3 separate regions of the Homo sapiens genome follow, and regions 1 and 2 are each linked to region 3. Evidence: promoter capture Hi-C in 16 types of primary human blood cells and fetal thymus (Javierre and others, 2016). All regions are on one chromosome and are shown on one strand. The core of a region is centred on a gene start or on the middle of the fragment in contact, and the rest is flanking DNA. Distances in the headings are between cores, read along the strand shown. Region 1 overlaps LOC105369146 (a long non-coding RNA gene). Region 2 overlaps LOC105369146 (a long non-coding RNA gene). Region 3 holds the start of CACNA2D1-AS1 (CACNA2D1 antisense RNA 1).

What was found. The method cuts DNA at HindIII sites, captures the fragments that hold promoters and counts their contacts. A CHiCAGO score of 5 or more calls a contact.
Region 1: a contact is called between a fragment that was not itself captured here and the fragment with the promoter of CACNA2D1-AS1 in region 3, in 2 of 17 cell types (erythroblasts and M2 macrophages). The highest score is 5.3, in erythroblasts.
Region 2: a fragment that was not itself captured here is called in contact with the fragment with the promoter of CACNA2D1-AS1 in region 3 in 4 of 17 cell types (M2 macrophages, M1 macrophages, megakaryocytes and 1 more); the score reaches 7.4 in M2 macrophages.

Annotation. Positions count from the first base shown.
Region 1 is chr7:81,545,763-81,548,462 of GRCh38, reverse strand. All of the region lies in intron 3 of LOC105369146 (a long non-coding RNA gene), which reads left to right. Among named protein-coding and RNA genes, the nearest start is that of HGF, 220 kb to the left of the region's middle. The HindIII fragment of the contact is 1,709 bases long and covers 483-2,191 here.
Region 2 is chr7:81,518,884-81,521,583 of GRCh38, reverse strand. All of the region lies in intron 4 of LOC105369146 (a long non-coding RNA gene), which reads left to right. Among named protein-coding and RNA genes, the nearest start is that of HGF, 250 kb to the left of the region's middle. The HindIII fragment of the contact is 1,915 bases long and covers 409-2,323 here.
Region 3 is chr7:82,007,846-82,010,545 of GRCh38, reverse strand. It overlaps CACNA2D1-AS1 (CACNA2D1 antisense RNA 1), which reads right to left and starts at 1,369. Exons shown (of 4, transcript NR_110077.1): 1 at 1,284-1,369. The region is part of intron 15 of CACNA2D1 (calcium voltage-gated channel auxiliary subunit alpha2delta 1); the gene reads left to right. The HindIII fragment of the contact is 1,784 bases long and covers 1-1,640 here.

The DNA of each region.
Region 1 (2,700 bases), core at 88-2,587, 460 kb after region 3:
AAACACCTGGAAATGTATGATAGAATATAACTAGCCTTTAATGTGGAAATGTGACCTCAAAAAAAATTAGGGGATATTTCAGGGGCCAAAAACAGAGGCTCCTCAATGATGCCAAGTGCCCTGAGAGCATCTTCTCTGTAAAGAAGAGGTTTAGGTTTCACAGCCACTTGGAAACAGGAAGTAAAACTTTGGGAGCAATAAGGGCAGGCAGTTGGAACCTCATAAAATAAGAGGTCCTTCAGGATGAAAACTTGGAAAGGACACCTTCACACGCTAGCCTGGAGTAGACAATAAGAAAGTTTGCCCATCTAGGCCTAGGCTCTGAATTAAGGGGAAAACGCGTCCTCCAAAATGTAAAGGAAATATATTGGGTTTGAATTATGCACACTGCAAATTATTGGAAAACCCAGACAAGACGTTAAAAGGAAAGGGGTCTTGGTGTTTTATTGTGAGGAATTCCTGGCAGAAACAAAAGCAAAGCTTCCCTAGAGAGGCCTAACATCCACCTAAGCAGCAGAAAATTCCTGAAGAAAAAAATTTGGCAGAAAATGGGCTCAGAATCTAAAATTACGAACTCTTAGAAAACAGCCATAACTTACAGACCAATGCACAGCTATTTCACACCCATTTCACTGGCTGTAACCCGAAATGACTGGGGAGAAGTGGCTTTGAACCTGGGTACAATGCACAGGCTAGTGTACTTTTGTAAGTTGACTTCGTGAACAGGTATTGTTTACTTCCTCCTGTTGTGAGATTTATTTCTGACTTCAGTACAGATGATAATATGACAGTGTTGTGGCTTTATTTTATATTAGTGAGCTGCTAATTGTTATTGAGATGCTAATTATTAACATATGTTATGGTGTTTACTTCACAATAAATCTGCACAGAAGCTCTAGGTAGTATTGGCATATTTGAGTATACCTTTTGTAAAAGAAATATGAAAAAATAACTTTTTATAGATCATTTTTGCAATGACAATGATTAGAAATTAGTGACTACAATGTTTACATTGTACCTAGTTTCAAATCACCAAGGCATTCTGAATATTTCAACAAAGTGCTCATTAGTGAAAATTAAATGTGGTCCTGATATTTACAAGGGCACTATTTATTGTAATAAAATAAGCTGTAGGTCATTTAGTATTGTGTCGGTTGAGAACTTGTTACTAGAAGCATCCAACCAAGTTGCATTGTTACAAGACAAGGAGCCTCACGTTATTTGTAAAAAGTGAGAAAAACAATTTATTGGAAAATTGAAAAATAGTTCTGAGACCAGATGAGCTGAAGAAGTTTCAACAGATTTTCTTATCAAATCATAATTTGTGAGTTGAGTCCTGATACCTGAAACAAGTTTTTACAAAGTTATAAAAACTTGTCCTTTTAAATGGGTGTGACCTTGGTGGCTTCTCTTGGCTATCAGTGTTGTACCTTATGTAAATTAGGAAAAGCACATAGAAGGAGGCCTTTCTTGTGAAACAAAGAAAATAACTGCAAGGAAATGTACATTTATCTAATCAAAGACAAAATTTTTGTATCTGTAACACACAAGGTAAGTAAATCAATATTCACCGATAATGCTCCTGCCTAGATCTGAAGAAAAATTAAGAATATCTTTACTGATATATAAAAAAGTAGCATAATCATATATTGTCTATTACCCCATCATGTACTTGCTGACAAGAATTTGGATTAAAAAAAATGGAAGGCTCTTTTGTCTCCTGCAAAGAGCATGATAAATTTTCTTAGAGCATATTTTCTAAATAATCACTGTCACTTCAGTGATTCTTTTAAAGAAACTGTTACCAAACACATGCCCTTTATTTGTAAACACTAAAAGGAGTATAGTGCTTTAAACTGGACATGTAAAAATATAAGCTATTTCTTTTACCTCTAAAAATACTAATAGAGTCAATGATATAAATTAATGTTTGTCTTTCTTTGAATGTGTTTATGAATAGTCAAATTCTTAAAACTGACTGCTGTTTTAAGGAACTAGTCTGAAAGTACATGGCAACAACCCCATTAAATTTATCTAGTTTTATAAGAAAATTGCCTCTTTGGAAAAGAAATTTTAAGAATTTTGCTTTCTAACAGAGAGATGTTAGAAAATTCAGAAATGACCATCTGAAGCATGAAGGCATTACCAAGAGCTGAATGTCTGTCTGTGGCTATTTTTCTCTTGGAAAGCTTTTCATGCCAAAAAAATAAAAATAAATGGATACTGAATCTATTCATCTTTAACCTGGATGCCTACTAACCGCTAGAGCCATTAACTATATGCACATGTATTTAGTGACAATGATGTTGCCAAATTTCTTTTATACCACTGCATGATGTTTAGAGCAGAGATTCTTCAGCCAGAATGCTTGGCTAAGAATCCCAGGTTCACCACTTAAGGTTTTTTGTGAAGCTGGGCAAGTTATTGAACCTTTCTTAACTTGATTCCTCATTGTAAAATGGTGATAATAGTAGTGCCTACCCCTGAAGGTAGACATGAGGTTTTTAAAAGCAAATATTTGTAAAGTACTGAGTGGCTCATAGTAATAAGCACTATACAAGTGTTCCATAAATGAATAAACTAGAAACATTTCCATAGCTGGAGAAGAAAGTGATGAAAATTGTTGTTCTTTTGCTTGTACATAGTTAAGATTGGATTTTCGTCATTGCCTCATCAAAACAAAAACTAGAAACCACTTAA
Region 2 (2,700 bases), core at 117-2,616, 490 kb after region 3:
GATTATTAAAGTTCTAGTTAAAACTAAAACATTATATCACTGTAAATAATAGAAGTTGCCCAGGTTAAGTACTAATTTCAACAAGAATAAAAGCAAACTAGTTTATGTTAACAAAAATGTAAAGAATCATTTTATGTTAAATTAGTATTGTATAAATTTAAAAGTGATGGTGTTTGTAATCTTTATAATATATAGTAAGTATTCTTCACATTTGAAGATGGGTTTGTTCTTGAGAGATTTGGTGTCAAATATAGTTAAAAATAACATGAAATACAGTGAGATTCTTTAATAGAGTTGATTATTTTATGAACTGAAAAATTTACTAATTTTACCTGATTTGGGAAATTCAGAATTCCATTTTGTTTTTTATAGTTGGTAAATATATAGGTAGAGACCAAAATAAAAGCTTCATGAACTTGTCACCAACTTATATGTAATATAATTTATAGAATATTACATTCAAAGAGTTTTGCCAAAATTATCACCATTTAGTCTGTTAATCTATGAGAGCCAAAATTTTAAAACACTAAGGGTAATATATAAACCTGTTTGTCTGTCCATGAACCCCCAATAGGCATTGAATATTCATACAAATAACTGTCTATCATGTTAAAAGAAATATAAAAATTTCACACTTTCTCTAAACATTTCTGCAAGAGAATGCCTTATTTACAAGTACTCAGGCTCTTACTTTCCTCTTGCAGAGTGAGTTCTCAGCTTCATAATTTTATGACTACTACCCTCCTTCAGGTAATAGCAAACAGTATATAGTGTCCATTTTCGCTTGGCATGTTATTATTTAAAAATTGGCTCAACTCTACTAAGCGTTCATGTAAAATAATTCATTTAACTGAAATTTATATTAAGGAAATGGCTCTTAGCTGTCCAAATTGTCCAGAAGTTTATCTTATTTGTATTCTAATAATTGACACAAATTTTACACTTAAAAAATCTATCCTATCTCCAGAATGCAAGAAGAAAATAATAAGAAATAATATTAAAATTATAATTTCTATATTGAGATCATGTATTAAAAATAAAATATAGATAGCTTTGGTTTCTTTAATAAATATTTAAAAATGTATAATATATTAGCTAAGTATATAACAATACAGAAATTAAAATCTTTTTCTTATTAAAGATAATTCCAACTTAATTTATGTCTCTTTAATAGGGAACAGTTTTTAAAAATATCCCAGATAAATTGGCTGTTTGTTTTAGTTATTGAAATTTATTTAATAAATAAATGTAACAAAATTTTAGAGTATGAGCATTCCAGAAGTTTAATAATTCCAATTATTTAAAGGTTATAAATAGCTAAAAACTTTCTCTCTCTCTTGTAGATTTGTATCAAACAATTTTCCACAGACCAATAGTTCTAATATTTTAATTGGGAACATTTAGAAACGTGGATGTGCTATATTGTGTTGTAACTGGAGATTCAGTTAGAGAAATCATGGTCTTTTGCCAAGATTAATTCTGGCAAGCAACATTGGCATAATATATTAAAGCCCATGTCATAGAAACAGCACCTCAGAAATGGGAACTGAGGATTCAAGACTGGCAGAGTCTCCTAGTGCTTAATGTTAAGAACTAGCTTAAAGGGTAGTCATAATGATATTGGAGAAGGAATAATTCTTCCTTCCAACATGTTCTCAGAGTCCAAAAATATAGAGGAGATGGCAAAAAGATTGTTGAAAAATTACAGGTCTAGAAAATTAGGTCAAGAGATGAACTTGGAAGCCACCAATAAATAAAAGCCATAAATAATCATATAAATATTTTTGAAAGTCTTTTGACAATTTCTGGATAACGAATATTATTATACTCACTAAGGATATTGTCCTTCTACTTTATCCTTTTTAATAATGCTTACTCTCTTTAGGCTTGTTGATTCCTCATTAAAGATATGGATTCCCTTTTTTAAAAAATTTTACTTTAAGATCTGGGATACATGTGCAGAACATGCAGATTTGTTACATAGGTATACATGTGCCAGGGTGGTTTGCTGCACCTATCCACTCGTCATCTAGATTTTAAACCCTGCATGCATTAGGTATTTGTCTCAATGCTCTCGCTCCCCTAGCCCCCCCAACCCCCAACAGGCTCGGGCGTGTGATGTTGCCCTCCCTGTGTCCATGTGTTCTCATTGTTCAACTTCCACTTATGAGTGAGAATGTGCGGTGTTTGGTTTTCTGTTCCTATGTTAGTTTGCTGAGAATGATGCTTCCAGCTTCAACCATGTTCCTGCAAAGGACATGAACTCATTCTTCTTTATGGCTGCATAGTATTGATATGGATTCAGTTTTAAAGGTAACAAGCTTCATAAGAAAATCCATGGATAATTTCAATTCAATTAACTAACTCATGCTCTTCCCATTTAATAATTCTTGTTCTTATAACCATAAAGTGCTTGTTCTTAAACAATTCTCATTGCTTCTTTATAAATTGACACTATGCTTACAGTGATGATACTACGCTAGAACCCCCATAATCAAGCCATTAGAGGTCATAAGTGCTATTCTATGACTTTTTAGTGTGAGACAATTGAAATTTAAATAATATATTGTCTTATAATATATTGTTCATGGAAGACCTGCTGCATATTCCAATCAGTAGTATTAGTAGTTCAGTATATCTGCTTTATTTCACAAATGAATACTTCAGGAGAGAGGAAAAGGTGAAGGAATGAGTAAGTCC
Region 3 (2,700 bases), core at 120-2,619:
GAGTCAATAATTATGCCCTGTTGTGTTTCCTTTGACTGGAAGTTCATTAGCCAGCATGTCTGCATTGCTGGTAAGGTTCTTACTGATAGCACAAATGACATTAGGAGGAAATGTTGGTTCTAAATGTGCTGTGCTATAAGCTGAAACTGAATGTAAAAAAAAAAAAAAAAGGAACACGTGAATTTGCTATTCATTGGACACATATAGCGTTATTTTTACTGTTTTGAAGATGATAAAGTGATCCTCATATATTCCTAGTTATTTGTTTATAATCTCTCCACACAGCAGATTAAAAATATATGTTGGTCAAAAATAAACAGTTATATTAAAAAGGAAAAGGTAAATATATTTCAAAACGAAATATAATGGATATAATGAGAAAAAGAATTCTGACTTCAAAATGAAGCCAATATTGGGGGCAAAGTGGGTTGTGGTTAAGAAAATGGAGACATTTTAGCTGATATTAGTGTAAGATTTTTGCAATTGGTGGTGAAAAGTGAAACCATAAAAATGGGGTATAGCATAAAAGTTGGGGAAGCACTGAGTATATCAAAAAAATGATACCTTGGTCATTTTTGGTAATAAGGGGAGATTAGGACAATATTGTGGAGAGTTCATTTTAATTAGGAGACAAAGTGAAGCTCTTTATAAAAAGAGATATGACAAGAGTTGGGCTCTAGAAAATATTTTTAAAATTCCAGGGTAGAGAAATCTTGTTTTATTTCTCTCTTATTTTCTAGAGACATGTGCAGTACTCAGGAGTAGAGTACAAGTTTTTGGTCTGCTTAGTAAATGAGAAAAAAATTCAAGTTGGGCCCAAATGAGTTCATTCATAATTATCTTTAATATGTTAGTAATCTAGTAACTCACTTTAGGCTACATTTTACCATTTTTAGAAGCAAATTATGGTATGCAGTATAAATGCAAAAGTAATGCAAAGGAAATGATTACATCCATATCTACCTTGTCTTAAACCATGGTAGCATTTTTAAAACCATGCATATAGATTATAGCTCTAACAGACACTTCACCAAATCCTTACTAAATTATCTTTTGGATACCAGTTTTACGAATTAATCTATAGCCTGACTTTATTGAGGTGGGAGGTTTTCATTGGAAGCATTAATTTATATAATTAAGGATGTTTCATTGTCTAATGTTCTTGGTTAGGACTTTATAAGCGCCAACATGTGTCTATCACTGTATGAGTCTGTTCTCACACTGCTGTGAAGAAATCCCCAAGACTGAGTACTTTATAAAGAAAAAAGGTTTAATTGACTCACAGTTCCATGTGGCTGGGGAGGCCTCAGGAAACTTAAAATCATGGCGGAAAGCATCTCTTCGCCAGGCAGCAGGAGAGAGAATAAGTGTTGAGCGAAGGGGAAAGCCACTTAAAAACCATCAGACCTCGTGAGAAATTACTCACTATCACGAGAATAACATGGGGGAAACCGTACCATGGTTCAATTACCTCTGGATCTCTCCCACAACACGTGGGGATTATGGGAACTACAACTGAAGATGAGATTTGTGTGGGAACACAGCCAAACCATATCAATCATCATGCACCCAAATATGTATGGTTGTTTCCTTAGTTTTATTTGCTGCAAATAATTTGGTATTTTGGTCTTCTGGAAGCTTCTCTATTATTGTCTCTCCTCCCTAATTCATTCATATTCCCATTGAATTTGGGCCTCCTATGTGCACAATTATGAACCACAACCTGATACCACAACATTTGCTCCCTGATATTAATAAATATTTTTAATGTTCTAGTGAATAATTATTCCAAATCCAACTTTATGAACTCGGTTCTGATTCCAGAACTCTGTTCTGAGTTCTTGAGATTTGGATTTGGAATCACTATTCGTGAGAAGATTAATAATAATTTCTCATTTAGCAAATTCAAAATTTCAAACAATAAAAATTATTTTAAAGAGTGATTTTGTTAAATGTAGTTTTGACATGAAATGGTTAAAATTATAATGGATATAGATGTCAGTAACAAAAGCAAACTCTGACTTGAAAATCAGTTTATTTTGACTAATCTGTATGGATTCATTTAATGTATTAAATTATGTGCTGATTAATAGGATGGCATTAGTTCTACTATGTTAAACTCTTCAGACTAGACTTTTATATTTGATGCTTGCAGTTGTCTTTTCTTCATAATTTTACTTGTCAAAAAGTACTGCTTATTTTGGGGTCTACTTAGAAAAGTAGTACTGCTTCTGAAGAGCGTAACATTTACTTAGAATATCCCAGATATGCAGTATCAATAGAATGTTTCTTTTATTTATCATGTTATTCAACTGCACATTTTTCATTTAGCATGAAGTCTTTGGCTTAGGGCATAAAAAATAAAGAATAAGGCTACAAAAAGGGAAGCTAAATAATCACTTAAAATAATATTTTATTATCACTCTGCTTATGGAGGCCCTGATATTAGGTGAACTATCACTATGAAAAAGGGGGAGGACACAGGGTTACTGAAATGCATACAGGCTGTTGACTATTTGTGTAAGCTGATTATTTTTGAAGTTATCTTAGAGGATTATTTTAAATGTTGCATGCTTCAGTAGGTGCCTAGTAGGTCCTAATTATTTCCAAGATATTTTCCTTGATATTTTAAAAATAAATTTTAATAGATATTCAAAATGAGTTACTAGTTTTTGTGGCTCTTTATAAAGTAACTATAAA